Regions from separate parts of the Homo sapiens genome. Here regions 1, 3, 4 and 5 are each linked to region 2. Evidence: promoter capture Hi-C in human tissues and cell types (Jung and others, 2019). All regions are on one chromosome and are shown on one strand. The core of a region is centred on a gene start or on the middle of the fragment in contact, and the rest is flanking DNA. Distances in the headings are between cores, read along the strand shown.

Region 1 (2,887 bases), core at 101-2,600, 1.3 Mb before region 2:
ACTGCTGATTCTATTTCTAATCAAGCTTTCTACTTCTTTCGCAGGCAGTTTTGGCATCTTTCTAAAGGAATCATCACATTTCACCTAAGTTTTCAGTGTTACTGGTATAACATTATTCACATCTTCTTAGCATTTGCAGCGATAGCCTCCATTTCACTCATAATAATTAATTTGTAAATTTTCCTTTTTTTCTTGGTCAGCATCTCCAGAAATGCCTAAGTTTTATTACTTCTCTTCCCCAAGAGCTAACTTTTGGCTTTGTGGAACTCCTCTGTATCTTTGTTTAATATTTTTAAATTTATTTCATCTTTATTATTTCTTTCTTTGTACTTAGAGTGTGTTGTTTTTTAAAATTTTCTAGTTTAAGCTGAACACATATTAATTTTTAGCCTATCTTCTTTTTTTAAATTAAAGACTAAAACTTTATTATTCTTATTTAAAATAAATGAAGCAAAAGAAGTTACAAGAGAACTTATGTCTAACCAAGAGGCAGGTGGGTGAGTGGGAAGGGAGGCTGTTCTCTGCTCACTGCAATGCTGCACATCATGGTGGAGAGTAGGTCATGCTGTGAGAAACAAACTCACTGGTCCAAACCCAAAGTTTGGGCTCAGAGACCCAGAGAACAGTGGAAGCGAGACTTTAATGACAATCTTGCAAGATCGGGTGTCTGATGGGCAGGCACACCCAGTACAGTTTCAAAAGCAATTTATCCCCTAGTGTGCAGGTCCCTCCCTTGGTTCCTCATAGGCTGAGTACTATGGGGTCACAGTCTTCCTGGACATTGCCTATTGGTTGTTGGGTAGGGGTTTTAGGCATTTTCTTTAGGATTGTTCTGCTGCATTTTGTTGCAGCCATAATACATTGCAATCCTAGTTAGCTCAAGGGCTCTTCAAGTACTTGACTTATGACCTAAGTATCTGGGCAGGCTGATAAGAACAGACAAAGTGAGCTATTTTGCAAGCTAGTAAACTTTCATCTTAGACTAAACTCCTTTGGTTTGGGTGAGGGCAACTAAGGCAGTGGGGTAGGGTGGAGGGTGGGGAGGCGACAAGCAGGCATTGGCTATCCAAGCAGGGGCCTAGTGTATCCTGTTTCTTCTGTAGTTTGCTGACCTAAACCAATTCAAGGCACTTTGTCTTGGAAATGGACCACTGTATATATTATTTCCTTCATGCTCAGTACAGATAGCTCTCTCAGGGTTATTGTTAACATTCAAGGGGTGATAAAACAAATGCTTCCTGCAGCCAATTCCATTATCTAAGAATCCAAGTCAAATTTTGTTTTGTTTTGTTGAGAAAGGGCATTGCAAAGGTTCAAAAAAATGAAGTCCAAATAGCACTGTATCATCAAGCATTTGCCTTTTTAAAGAATGTATGTATATTTTACAGCCCAGCACCTCACGCTCAGGAAGGGTGTTTCTGAAGACTGATAAAGCCCCTTCAGTGAATGGCGCCAGGGCACAGCTGTCCACGACAAAGTGAGGGTTAGTAACTGCAGCGAGGAAGCCACATCAGAGGCCTCCTGCCTTCAGCATGGGATAGACAGGATTGCGGAGAAGGGAGGAGTTCAGGTGAAGTTTAAAATGAAGCCGTTTCTGACAGGCTGAAAGCAGGGCTGTGGGTCACAGGGTGACACATCACACTGGGCTGAGAGGCTGACTTGGGGGCCCGAGCTCAAGACAAATGCACCATGTTGTATCTGGAAGCCCCTTATCTGAGGCTGTGAGCCAAGGTGAGAGCTCCAGGCTGCTTCTCTGTGTGGAGTGGCCTGCATGGCTGAGCATCTGCAGGCGACAGGATTCCAGACAGCAAGCTTTCTCAGGGCGGAGAAGTGGAGTACGAGATTTCTCAGCACAGAGGCTGAGGGAGCTGCCTCAGGCTGGCTATCTTTGTTCCTTAGCCCTGCTCTCCTATTACCTGGGGCCTGCCCCTCCTCCCACCTATCTCCTGGCTCCCAGTCTCCCAGGCTCCAGAATGCTTGGGCCAAGGTAGCTAGGTAACCAGAAGACACTCACCCTTGGTGCACTGGAAACAGTAACACCAGAGTGTCCTCCACATGACCCCAGAACTATGACAAGGTCCCCCTCAAAAACCATCCCTACTAGGGAGCCCCAAGCCAGGCTGCCCAGTGGGAGCTATGTGCTGCTGTCTTACTCGAAGTCAACTTTCAGCCTATCTTATAAGAAATGCAGTTAGAGCTTTGCATTTCCTATAAGCACCCTTGTAGCTCTGTCCCACACATTTGGCTGTATTGTATTTTTGTAATTGTCAGTTTGGAACATTTTCTAAAGTCCACTATTACAGTGTTTCTCTGTCCATGTGTTATTTAGAAATATTTTTGCTCTCTCCATTCCAAGATGGCCAGATAAGAATAGCTCCAGTCTGCAGCTCCCAGCATGATCCACGCAGAAGATGGGTGATTTCTGCATTTCCAACTGAGGTACCTGGTTCTTCTCATTGGGACTGGTTGGACAGTGGGTGCAGCCCACAGAGGGCGAGCCAAAGCAGGGTGGGGCATTGCCTCACCTGGGAACAACAAGGGGTTGGGGGATTTCCCTTTCCTAGCCAAAGGAAGCCGTGACAGACTGTACCTGGAAAAACGGGACACTCTCCCCCAAATACTGTGCTTTTCCAAAGGTCTTAGCAAATGGCACACCAGGAGATTATATCCCGCACATGGCTCGGTGGATCCCACGCCTATGGAGTCTTGCTCACTGCTAGTGCAGCAGTCTGAGATCAACCTGTGAGGCAGCAGCCTAGCAGGGGAAGGGGCGTCTGCCATTGCTGCAGCTTGAGTAGGTAAACAAAGCGGCTGGGGAAGCTTGAACTGGGCAGAGCCCACTGCAGCTCAGCAAGGCCTGCTGCCTTTGTAGTCTCTACTGCTGGGG
Region 2 (3,001 bases), core at 333-2,832:
ACCAGATGTGGGCTGCCAGGGTCGGGTGGGCATGAGGGTGGGCTTCAGAGGCAGGAGGAAACCATCTGGGGTGAGGCAGATATCACAGGTGTGGACAAAGTGGTAACACAAGTGTATGCATTTATGAAATCCCCCAGATTGGGCACATACAATTAGGCATTTTATTGTGTGTAAATTCTACCTCATTCAATGTAATTTTTAAAATATTACATGAGTTTTCCAAGCAGTGTACAGAGGACCAGTGCTGGCAGCACGTCTCCCAGAGGGGAGGAGCAAGAGAGGCTCTTGGGCTCCCACATTCATCCTGTGGCTGCTGCTCCTTCTCCTGACACCCCCACCACCTGCCAGGGGTCTCCCTGCGCCTTCCACCTGGACACACCCACAGTTACCGTGAGACTCCAGGTCGTTCCCTTCCCTGCTCACACCCCCTCCAGGAGCTTCCTCTTCCTGGAGCAGGCATGCCCAGCCTTGCCTCAGGGCCTTTGCACTGACTATTCCCTGCTGCCTGGGGCTTCTCAACCTTTCCGGTCTCTTAGAGACTTCCCTGACCAGGGTCCAGTAGCACCCACCCTCTCTCTAACTGAGCGACTATAATTCCCTGATCTAAATTGTTGATCACCACTCTGCATCCTCCCACACACCCTAATGGCTGGGCTATGCAGTACCACAGCCACCAGCAGCCACTCGTGGCCACAGGGCACTTGAAATGGGGCTAGTCCACAGTGACGCTTGGTCTAACTGTAAAAAATACACAGGGAACTTCAAGACATTACACTCACACAAAAGAATGTAAACTAGCTCCTTAAGAATAGTCCTGAAGTGTTGAAGTATTTTGGATATATTAGGTTAAAGTAGAAATACCAAAATTACTTTCAGCTGTATCTTTTAACTTTTTCAAATGTGTTTTAAATTGCTCCTGGGTTTCTGTCACATCTCTGTTGGATGGCAGCTCTGCAAGTTCATGTCTACGGCTCTATTGCCCAGACTGCTTGGTGCAGGGGGAAGCTGGTGACAGGTTTGTTTATTGAATAATGAGGAGTTATGAAACGAGAACCCAGTGAACTTTACCCAAAGGTTAATTACTTTATGTTTGGCAAAGAAGTTCCCCAGAAGAGGGCATGGACAAGGTCATCCCGGAGCTTCTGAAACAGCTCCCTGCCCCAGGAATTCCCAGACCATGACCACGTGCTCCTGGATGCCCCTGACATCTGAAGACTTTAGAAGGCCAAGCCCTGTATTTCTCCCTTTCCTGTGGACATAGGTGGTCACCAGGTTTCACAGCCCAGGGAGCGGTGTCACCTCTCTGGAATCCAGAGTGAGCCAAGCTTTAGAGCACTGAGGAAGAGGGGCAGGGCTGTGGGGAGGTTGCGGTCAGGACAGGAGTGGGGAGGAGGATGAGGAGGAGGCATGGGAGGAGCGAAGGGAACTTAGGGAGGGAGGGAGGTGGTTGGGGGTGGAAAGGGAGATAGAGACAGAAGAGGAGGGGTAGAAAGAGGAGGAGGAGCCAGGGGCGGGGCCAGGGAGCAGGTGGGGTTGGGGGACACCCAAGTAGGATAAATGCACAGCTAGCTTCTGGCCTGGGCTTCCTGCCTCAGCCTTCTGCTGCTTTGCTCTCTGGGAGATCCAGCTCCTTGCTCTGTGTCCCAGTAGAACATGATGTGGCCCATGCACACCCCACTGCTGCTGCTGACTGCCTTGATGGTGGCCGTGGCCGGGAGTGCCTCGGCCCAATCTAGGACCTTGGCAGGTGGCATCCATGCCACAGACCTCAATGACAAGAGTGTGCAGTGTGCCCTGGACTTTGCCATCAGCGAGTACAACAAGGTCATTAATAAGGATGAGTACTACAGCCGCCCTCTGCAGGTGATGGCTGCCTACCAGCAGGTGCGTGCTACCACCACCCTGGGGGTCCTGAGTCCCAGCTGGGTTTTTTGCCTCACCCCCCAGAGCACTCCCAGCAAATCAACATTATCTAAACCGCAGACTCATTCAGCTTTCTCTGACTGTCTGCTGATGGTCTTCATGCCCTAGGACACTCCTTGGCCGTGAGTGCATGAGTTCAGCCCTGTCCTGTCCCCTCGGCCTCTTTTAACCTGCAGCAGCCACTGTGTCTGTACCATGACTGTGGCATTTCCCAGGGTCCAGCAGGTGTGGATGGAGACTGTGCTGACTCTGGGTGGGCTTGATGCTGCTCAGGATGAGATCCAGGCCACGAGGTTCATCTTCCTCCCTGAGTCCTCTCCACAGGGGCCACACGGGAACCTGACTCCTTGTCCTGGATAGCCCCGCTTCCCTCCCAAGTCACGCCCCTGGGCACAGCCCGTTATGGCTAGTGGCCTTCACTCTCAGGCTGGCTGACCACCCCCTACAGCCCAGGACAGCTGAGTTCCTGCTGGGGTAGAGCATGCCTGACCCTGCCTCTGCCAGCTAACGCAGAGTTAGACCTCAGCAAAATGAGGACAGCAATCACCCAGCAGAGTGAAGGAGGTGGTTGGGTCCAGAGGGAGGAAGCTTCAGCAGGGCTACCGAGCCCAGCTTGACCTACGTCCCATGGCAGAGCAGCAGTGACACAGCGACCACAGGGCTATATGGCCTGCCAGCCTTTAGAGCTCCTCCACCTTCTCTTGGAAAGTCAGAGGAGTCCAGACCAGCCCTGTTTCTCCTCCTGCAGCCCTCTCCCTGCACAGGAGGGGCATTCCCTGGTGCTGTGGTCCCTGCTGGCCTGCACTCCCTCTTAAGTGTGTCACTCACTGGGAGTGAAGCACAGAATGATGTAGATCGTTGGGCCCTGGAGCCTATTTTACAGAGCAGCAGACTGACACCGGAGGGATCACAGGACTTCCATGTGGTTCTACAGGACTTGTGTGTGGTTCCACAGGGCAAGGTCTAGCACCCTGGTCCCAGGGTCCCTCATCCCATGCTTCTCCACAGTTCTGACAAGTCATGTTTTGGGGCGGCACTGTGCAGGGAAAGCATTCAGTTCTCTTCTGAAGTTGCAACC
Region 3 (3,036 bases), core at 36-2,535, 1.1 Mb before region 2:
GTTCCCGTTCTCTTGCTCTCTCTGCAGAGATATGCTATATATGATATACATATGATACATATCATATGTATGTATATGATACATATATAATTTCTGGATTGTTTGAAAGCTTTTCTTACTCTAACCCTCTCCACTCGCACCCCAGGACGCTCTTCCAGAGCTGTGTCTCCGCCTCTGGGACGGGAGGATGTCATCTGAGGAGCTCCTGGCACAGGCTCTACCTCCTGTTCTCCCGGATCCTCAGTCGTGCGGGAGTCTGGGAGGCCTGGCTTCCTCAGGGGTGAGGTTTGGGGCGCTGCGTTAGAGACGTGGTGACGGTGTTTTTCACAGTCCTGGGAGGGAGTGGGCTGGGGAAGAGAGGGCACATCTGAGAGAAGGGCCTGCTGCTTTACCTGCTTCAAGGTGTGGTTGGTTTGGAAGTCACAGTCATCCAGACGCAGGTGCTGGTTTTTCTTGCAGGTAGTTCTGCCAATTTCCACCTCCAGCATATATTTCAGGCCTTTCACTATCTGGAGGGAGCAAAGGGACTGGGTTACTGGGCACAGGGGAGGGAGGGCAGGCTTCTCCACTAGGAAGCAGGGCCTCAAGACAGTGGTGCAGGTGCCCACCGAGGAGAAGGGAAGTGGGCCAGCATCTTGGGGCAATGCTTCGGGCTTACGGCAGAGCCTGCAGACCCCTCCCACTCCCCTCCCTGCCCCGTGCTGGGTTTGTGCCCCTTCCTGAGACAGATGTCTCCTTTCTGGCCAGAGCTCTGCACTCAGGAGGGACGTCACACTAGGTCTCCTGCATGCCCTGCTGGGCCCGCCCTGCAGCCCTCACTCCAGCCCCATGATGGCTGTTTCTTGTGGCCTCTGTGTCAGGCCTGGGGTCTGCGGGCTTCCCCTCTCCATTCCTGGGGTCGGGAGTTTTGAGTTTCTGGACAGCCCTTCTCCACTTGGATATGGCAGCCGCCTTGTTCATTCTCATTTGTGGTCTTAGAGGAGTTGAAGAAAAATTCCTCAGGTTTTAGTCTCAGCTTTAGGGGAATTACGTTGTCCCCAATATCACCAAGCTAGAGAGAGACAACCTCCAAGTCCCCTCCCAGAGAACCCCAAGGACTCAGAACCAGGGCATCCCACTGGCCTACCCGGAGAAGGAGGGAGGGCCTGCATCACCCAGGGAAGATCCCCTGTCCCTGAGGCCAGGCTGCAGAGCGAGGACCCTGGCTACACACCCACGATTCTCATATGAAAACATGCTGTCCTTCACAAGTTTGCAATTGTCAAAAATAATTAGGTTATAAAAATCACCCCTCCCTGTGACCCAGCATAACCATGAACACTGTGAAGACTGCCTTGGACAGGGCTGCTTCTGCCCCTTACAGGCACCAGCACACGGTGGTGGGTGTCATCCACAGCCTGCATCCCACATTAGCAAGTGGGTGTTCTCAGGACACAGACAAGGGTCCTCTAGGAGGGAGGGTGCTGAGCGGGCGCAGTAGGAATGAGTCAGGGAAAGGGCAGTGGCTTGGGCAGAGCTCTTGGACTCTGGGATGTGAGTGAGCACTCCAGGGGGAAAGTGGCAAAGACACCTCTGGGCTGCAGGGCACGTGAGGGGTGAGGCCGGGTGAGGACCCTGGTCCCAGCAGGGGCAGCTCCTCGGACAGCGGCTTTCTCCCCCATCAGCCTTGGCGCCTGCCTCAGGAGCCCCATTAGGGCCCTGGCACCTCCTTACCCCATGCCTAGTAGGCTCTGGGCCAGGGGCCTGGTAACCACCCAGGAGCCGTGTGCTTTGTGTAACCTTTGCGCTTGGCCCTGGGGGATGCTGGCCTCAGCTGCTGCTGTCCACTCCCACCCCTTGTGCATCTGCTTTCTGCTCAGAGCTCTGCACTCAGCAGGGACTTCACATTATATCCGCCCTGCTCTCCTAGGTGTCGCGTTGTAGCAGCTCGGCTTCCTAGGGGTGTCCGTGATATGTGACCAGAACCCAGACCGTTACCTGAACTAGGGCCCTTGTGATGCGGGACTCCTTGAACAAGAACATGTCGTTCGTGCAGTTGTTGAACTTTTCAACACTGTATCTGGCTGCTTGGAGGACTCCTGGGTCATTGGTCTTTATTGTTTTAGGAAATCCTGGCTTCACACGTGAGTTAAGGTCCTGGGAACAAGTATCTGAAAGAGACAAAGAGCCAGACAAGAACACTGATGTTAGTGGGGCCTTCAGTCCAGGTGTCACGCCTCATGCCTCTGTGATGCTCAGTTCTCTGCTGGCGTGTGTGTCCTGGCCCTACCCACCCCTCACCTGCTCCCCCTCTTACCTACCCCTGTCACCTGTCCCTGCTTACCTGCCCCCACCCTACCCACCCCTAACCTGCCCCCCTCACCTGCCCCCTCACCTGTTCTCCCTCACCTGCCCCCTCTCACCTGCTCCCCTCACCTGCCCCCCTCACCTGCCCCCTCACCTGTCCCCCCCGACACCCCTGCAGTGCATTTATTGCTCCATTTTCAGAGCTGAGGACCAGGTGCCAGGGGGTGCAATGAACCTGTCCCCCACTTTCAGAACCCAGGGTTATTTCCAACGTAAGTGTTAAAAGCGGAACATGTCCCACAGGTGAGATCCTCAGTACGGGATGTAGCCTTAGGATGTAGGGAAAGTCAACCCCAGCCTGGCCCTCTGGGCGGTAGATGGAGGTAGTGCCTCCCACCGGAAGGAGATGGCGCCGTCCTCGTCTCAAGACCTTTTGCCCGCCTGGCTCTCAGTCTCAGGCCCAGCCCCCAGGAGGGCACCCCTCCTGGCAGCCTGCAGCACTTGGTACCCCTGCGCTGCCTCCTGACTTTCCAGGGACAGTCTTTTTCACTCCTATGAGTGACAGTGCACTGTGTCCCCAAGCTTCGTTGGGGTCGGGGAGGCCTGCCCTTCCTGTACCAAGGAGGGCTATATTTGGATAAAAGATGGGGAAGCAGCATCGGGGGCCTCCCCCACAGTCATGTCCCCTAGTATCTGTGCCTGAGGCTGCAGGACGTGCGTCTTTGTGCCTGCTATGGACTGGATGGAAAG
Region 4 (2,988 bases), core at 457-2,956, 1.1 Mb before region 2:
TGGGGCAAACAAACTGATTTCTCAAACTGCGCCTGGGAACTAAGTTGCCAGCGTTCCTGGATGTGTCAGCACAGGTTGGGAACCTGCAATGCTTTGTCAGTGAAAATGGATAGGGATCGATACAGTGTTCTTTATTTAAGTTAAAAAAAGAGTAAGAGGGAGGCAGACACCGAGAAAAGACAGAAGAATTGTGGTTAACTGTGAGTTTACAGGAAGCAACACTGATGAGGGCCTGCCGAAAAGTTAATGGACCTTGGGCTAAAATAAGTGTGGCACCCAGAGCAGGGGTCCAGGAGCTGTGCTTACCTCATTTATATAACAAGCTAACTCCATTTCAAGTGCTCAGGAACCACACATGGCTAGTAGCTATTGTATTTCCATCGTTGCAGAAAGTTCTATTGGACAGTGCAGCTCAAGGAGTTTTGTTTAAATTTAAGCTAGTATTTCTAATACGTGACCACAGAACTTTCCAGTGGAGGCTGGATGCTGATCAGGTGAGGTTGAGGAGGTGTTGGTGAAGTCTGACTGGGAAGGGAGCTGCATAGAGTTAGTGGTGTCCAGCTGCACATGAGGAACAACCGATGAAAGAGTTCGCAGGCCCACCCTGTACCTACCAAAGCAGAATCTCTGGCCCAGGTCATCTTGATGTAGCCCATCCAGGAGTTGGCTGCCTTTGGGAACAGTAGACTGAGTGGCCTCTAAATTCTTCTCCAGCTTTAGGAGAGTGTTACTGGTATGGTAGATCCCGCAGCATTGGGACACAAATCTTTGTCAATGGACTTTTGGCCTCCTTTCTGGCTGTAAGCCCCGTGGCTTTCAGTCCTGGCTGGACTTTTTGTTTGGGACATAATTGAGCCTCTAACTATTGTGTGAAGGGGCAACCAGGTATTTAAATGGGGTGCCACCAGCTCTGAATCAGATTACCACATCAAGATTTTAAAAATATAAGCTGCAGTGTGGTAAAGTAGAGGTCACAATGTTGGAGTCAAGACAGATGAGGAAAATCTGCCTTAGGTAGAATGATGTTAGGCAAGGAAAAAGTAGCGTTTTGGCAAGATTGTTACTGTTTATAATGAAGGTCATGAGGTGAAAACACAATGTACCTTCCCTAGAGGGACTCTTCTCTCCTGGGAGTGGGGTGGGTGATGGCATCAGCTTCCTTTAAGGCAGGCAGTCCCTGTTGGACTCAGTACCAGAGTGCAGTGAGGGCAGCTCTCAGGGCTGGCAGCCACACATCTTCACCATCCACCTTTCCATATGCTTTGTCTCTCTTTGGGGTTCACACTGTCAGAAGCGTTTCTGTCATTTACTTGTAACCAGCCCTGCTTTATTGTACAAGTACTTCATTTCTATTGTGTTGGAAGACTTTAGGTCACTTAAAGAAAATCACTTGGGTTGAAGGGTGTCCTAGCCATTGGAGTGGCAGTTTGCATGGTGGAGTCACTGACTTTGTTTTGTTTTTGTTTTTTTTTAACATCTTTATTGAGATGTAATTCACATACCATAAAATTAACCTACTTAAAATGTTCAAATCAGTGATTTTTAGTATAATGGCCAGTTTTGCAGTAATTACCGCAATCCAAGTTTAGAACATTCTTGTCACTGTCAACTTTTTTTTTTAGTTGAGGTGAAATTCGCATAACATACAATTAACCACTTTAAAGTGCACAGTTCAGTGATATTTAGTGTATTCACAATGTTGGGCAACCACCAACTCTCTCTGCTTTCAAAACTGTTTCATCACCCCATAAAAGCAAGGTGTTTACCTTGTACTGATTAAGTAATCACTCCCATTTCCCCCTCCCACACAAATGTTCAGCAGATGAGTGGGGCTAGACATGGTTGCTCATGCCTGCTCATCTCAGGGTGCACTTTGGAAGGCTAAGGTGGGAAGACTGCTTGAGGCCAGAAGTTCAAGACCAGCCTGGACAATGTAGCAAGATGTTTTCTCTACAGAAAGTAAAACAATTAGCCACGTGTGGTGGTGCACACCTGTAGTCCTAGCTACTTTGGGAGGCTGAGACAGGAGGATCACTTGAGCCCAGGAATTTGAGATAACAGTGAGATATGATCATGCCACTGTACTCCAGCCTGGTTGACATACTGAGACCGTGTCTTTATATTTAAAAAACAAAAAACCAGATGAGTGGGCAGCAAGTTGTGGTAGATACATACATAATCAACTGGTAAAAGGAACCATGTACAGATACATACTGCAACTTAGATGGGCCTAGAAAACACACTGAATGAAAGAAGCTAGTCATGAAAGGTCACTTGTTGTATGATTCCACTTATATGAAATGCCTAGAATAGGCAGATCACCATGAATTTTCACAGAGCTTTCAAACTCCCGCTCTGAGGGCTCTAGGTCTGGGCATCCTCCACTCCCTCCTCTTGCTCTTGGCAGGCAGCGCTTCTAATGGTGACCGCAGCCATAGAGTCACATCTGGCTCTCAGTTGCGCTTTTCCAGCTCTTGCATTGGCTGTGGGAAAGCCACTTGAGCCTTTCCCTGCCCACTTCCCTCATTTGTGAAGGAGAGAGATACCTGGTTCCATCTGGTTGCCCACGTAAAGCACATTTCTTGGCATACTCTCATTTGGACTGTTTGCCATTCCTCTTTTCCTGGCCCTTACTCCTTTCCCTGCTGCAGACCTCTCAGGTTGCATGAGCCTGCCGTCATGTCAGGTCGTAGTTCTGTGCTTTGTAGACATTTTTATGCCTGTGGTGCTTATACCCATGACTGGTATAAGTCAGTCACATTAGAAGAAGATTATTTGGTCCTGGGGTTTGGAGACAGGACTGGGAGGGAGAGGTTGACCTGACTTTCCCCTTCATTCTCACCTGCCCTCTTCCAGGAGCTGGGCTCCCTTGGCCTCTCCCTGGTGTGTCTGTGGCATTTTGTTTGTGTTTGTAGGGTCTGGACCACCTCCTTTCCCACCTAATAAAAGGGGTAAGGACTGGCAATGTGGCATTTTACCTGGCCTCAG
Region 5 (3,056 bases), core at 150-2,649, 1.3 Mb before region 2:
CAAGCGATTCTGCTCTTTCAGCCTCCCAAGTAGCTGGGACTACAGGTGCACACCACCATGCCCAACTAATTTTTGTATTTTTAGTAGAGATAGGGTTTCACCATATTGGCCAGGCTGGTCTCAAACTCCTGACCTCATGATGTGCCTTCCTTGGCGTCCCAAAGTGCTGGGATTACAGGCATGAGCCACCATGCCTGGCCAAGTATGTCACTTTCTAACAGGCCCAGGAGCCCCAAATTACCTTGTGACCACAAGAGAAAAGGAATTTCCCAACTTATAGGTATTTGAGGGTACAAACTCAAGGCTGCGCTTGGCTTCGTAAAAAGTCTTATCTGAGATTCATTTTATGGAACAATGTTCCATCAAAGCCAATTAAAAAAGCCTATGTGAAAATTATTCTTGCTGCACTTTACAAATAATCTGGCCAAGTATAAGACTAAAGCTTATTTTTGCAAACAAATTCATTCTACCATGATTTGTCTTTAGTAAAAATGTGAGACAGGGGAGAGAAAAATTATGTTTCAAAAACTGTGGTACACTTGTTATCAGATTCTAGTCTTATCAGTTGTTTTTGAACTGTTTTTCACCATACCGATGCTTTCTGACTCAGCTCCTCTCTACCCTGGGTATGAGATGCCCTAATAGTTAGGCAGGAATATCATTGCCCCTATTCAGCCTGAAGAAGTTAAAGAAGATAGATCTTCATCTGCTTACAGCCTTTAGGATTAAAGGTTCCCTTGTAAAAGGGAGGGGGGAAATATGCCAGAGGTGTTTGAACCAGAGCAACTCAATCTTGAATAGGGGTTGGGTAAAATAAGGCTGAGACCCATGGAGCTGCATTCCCAGGAGGTGGGGCATTCTAAGTCACAGGATGAGATAGGGGGTTGGCACAAGATACAGGTTACAAAAACTTTGCTGATAAAAGAGTGCAGTAAAGAAGCTGGCCAAAACCTACCAAAACCAAGAGGGCAATGAAAGTGACCTCTGGCTCATTATACACTAATTATAATGTGTTAGCATGCTAAGAGACATCCCACCAACACCACAACAGTTTATAAATGCCATGACAATGTCAGGAAGTTTCCCTATATGGTCTAAAAACGGGAGGAACCCTCAGTTCTGGTAATTGCCCACCCCTTTCCTCAAAAACTCATGAATAATCCATCCCTTGTTTAGCCTATAATCAGGAAATAACCATAAAAACAGCCAACCAGCAGCCTCAGGGCTGCTCTGCCTATGGAGTAGCCATTCTTATATTCCTTTACTTCCTTAATAGACTTGATTTCACTTAATAAAAAGAAATTATAGTATACACATGCAAAGGAATATTATTTAGTCCTTAAAAAGAAGGAAATCCTGCCATTTGTGACAACATAGATTGACCCAGAGGACATTATGTTAAGCAAAGTAAGCCAGGCACAGAAAGACAAATGCGGCAGGATCTCATTTATGGATGTATCTTAGTCCATTTGTGCTGCTATAACAAAATATCTGGGACTGGGTAACTTATAAGCAACAAAAATTTATTTCTTATGTTTCTGGAGGCTGGGAAGTCCAAGATCAAGACACTAGCATTGGTGTCTGATGAAGGCTGCTCCCTGCTTCCAAGATGGTGTCTTGTTGCTGCTTCCTCCAGAGGGATGCATGTGTCCTCACATGGAGGAAGATAGAAGGGTGAAAGAGCACTCCTTTTGACCTTGAGCCTTTTAATAAGGGTGCTAATCCCATCCATAAAAGTAGAGCCCTCATGACTTAATCACATCCCAAAGACCATACCTCTTAATACTACTGCACTGGGGATGGCTTCAACATAAATTTTGGAGGGGATGCCATCATTCAAACCATAGCAATGTGGACTCTAAAATAATCAAACTCAAAAGCAGAGAGTAGAATGGTGGTTTTCATGGGCTGTGGGGAGGGGGAAATGAGGAGATGATGATCAGAAGGTACGAAGCTTCAGTTATCCAGGATGAATGAGCTCTGGAGATTTGTGTGGCATGATGCCTATAGGTAACAATACTGCATTGTATACCTAAAATTTACTAAGGCAAGTTGATCTTATGGTAAGTGTTATTATCAAAACAGTGATGAAAACAAAATCCAAATACAAATAATAAAGGGGCTGGGTGCAGTGGTTCACAGCTGTAATCCCAGCACTTTGGGAGGCCAAGGTAGGTGGATCACTTGAGGTCAGGAGTTTGAGACCATCCTGGCCAACATGGTGAAACCGTGTCTCTACTAAAAATACAAAAATTAGCTGGGCATAGTGGCCTGTGCCTGTGATCCCAGCTGCTCAGGAGGCTGCTGTGGGAGGATCACTTGAGCCTGGGAGGCAGAGGTTGCAGTGAGCCATGATCGTGCCACTGCACTCCAGCGTGTGTGACAGAGCAAGACTGTCTCAATAATAATAATAATAATAATAATAATAATAATAATAATAATAAAGGGGTGGGAGAAAACTTTGGGAGGTGATGGATGTGTTTATGGCCTTGATGGTGGTGATGATTTCACAGGTACATACGTATCCCCAAACTTATCGAAATGTATACATTAAATATATACAGCTTTTTGTATGTTCATTTTACCTCAATAGAGTGGTTTTCTTTAAAAAAAGAATTAACAACAATCTGGCAGGTCCATGGGGAGGAGAGGCCCAGGTGGCTGAGGAAAGAGCGTCTGCATCCTGGAGCCCCGTCTGGGGACATGGGGGCACATGTGAGGCTGTGGCACAGAGAGCCCTGCCGAGAAGGATATGGCTCCAGCTTCATATTGAAAAAGAAGGGTCTTTTGCAACTGGCCAACAAAAGCATCACTGGAGCTGGACAAGGTGGACATTCTGACCTGAAGGATGGCTCTGGGGGACAGGAGTGCTGGCCATGGGAGCAGGAGAGGCTGCACATTTTGCTGCTTATGCTTTTGCACCTGCCATCTTGGTCACCCTCACCCCCCCGGCCCTCTGAGTGTTCTCATAAGTGCAATATTATCTTCCTATTTTTTAAACGAGCACTTGAACATTTATGGGAAAACAGGCTGCATATTGGGGTCAACTGTGATGG

What was found. The method cuts DNA at HindIII sites, captures the fragments that hold promoters and counts their contacts. A contact is called where the count stands out against the background at its distance.
Region 1: a fragment that was not itself captured here is called in contact with the fragment with the promoter of CST5 in region 2 in 1 of the 25 tissues and cell types used here (dorsolateral prefrontal cortex).
Region 3: a fragment that was not itself captured here is called in contact with the fragment with the promoter of CST5 in region 2 in 1 of the 25 tissues and cell types used here (dorsolateral prefrontal cortex).
Region 4: a fragment that was not itself captured here is called in contact with the fragment with the promoter of CST5 in region 2 in 1 of the 25 tissues and cell types used here (dorsolateral prefrontal cortex).
Region 5: a fragment that was not itself captured here is called in contact with the fragment with the promoter of CST5 in region 2 in 1 of the 25 tissues and cell types used here (dorsolateral prefrontal cortex).

Annotation. Positions count from the first base shown.
Region 1 is chr20:25,186,449-25,189,335 of GRCh38, reverse strand. It overlaps LOC101926889 (a long non-coding RNA gene), which reads left to right. Exons shown (of 6, transcript NR_109994.1): 3 at 1,389-1,483; 4 at 2,357-2,439; 5 at 2,637-2,794. Among named protein-coding and RNA genes, the nearest start is that of ENTPD6, 7.8 kb to the left of the region's middle. The HindIII fragment of the contact is 6,552 bases long and covers 1-2,887 here.
Region 2 is chr20:23,878,329-23,881,329 of GRCh38, reverse strand. CST5 (cystatin D) reads left to right here and starts at 1,582. Exons shown (of 3, transcript NM_001900.5): 1 at 1,582-1,884. The coding sequence starts at 1,654. RefSeq lists an enhancer at 1,260-2,089. The HindIII fragment of the contact is 5,935 bases long and covers 1-3,001 here.
Region 3 is chr20:24,956,401-24,959,436 of GRCh38, reverse strand. CST7 (cystatin F) reads right to left here. Exons shown (of 4, transcript NM_003650.4): 2 at 1,978-2,150; 3 at 393-509. Among named protein-coding and RNA genes, the nearest start is that of CST7, 8.6 kb to the right of the region's middle. The HindIII fragment of the contact is 6,257 bases long and covers 1-3,036 here.
Region 4 is chr20:24,986,271-24,989,258 of GRCh38, reverse strand. The region is part of intron 1 of APMAP (adipocyte plasma membrane associated protein); the gene reads left to right. Among named protein-coding and RNA genes, the nearest start is that of APMAP, 5.0 kb to the left of the region's middle. The HindIII fragment of the contact is 6,757 bases long and covers 1-2,988 here.
Region 5 is chr20:25,161,760-25,164,815 of GRCh38, reverse strand. It overlaps the pseudogene NIPAL1P1. Among named protein-coding and RNA genes, the nearest start is that of ENTPD6, 32 kb to the left of the region's middle. The HindIII fragment of the contact is 4,276 bases long and covers 1-3,056 here.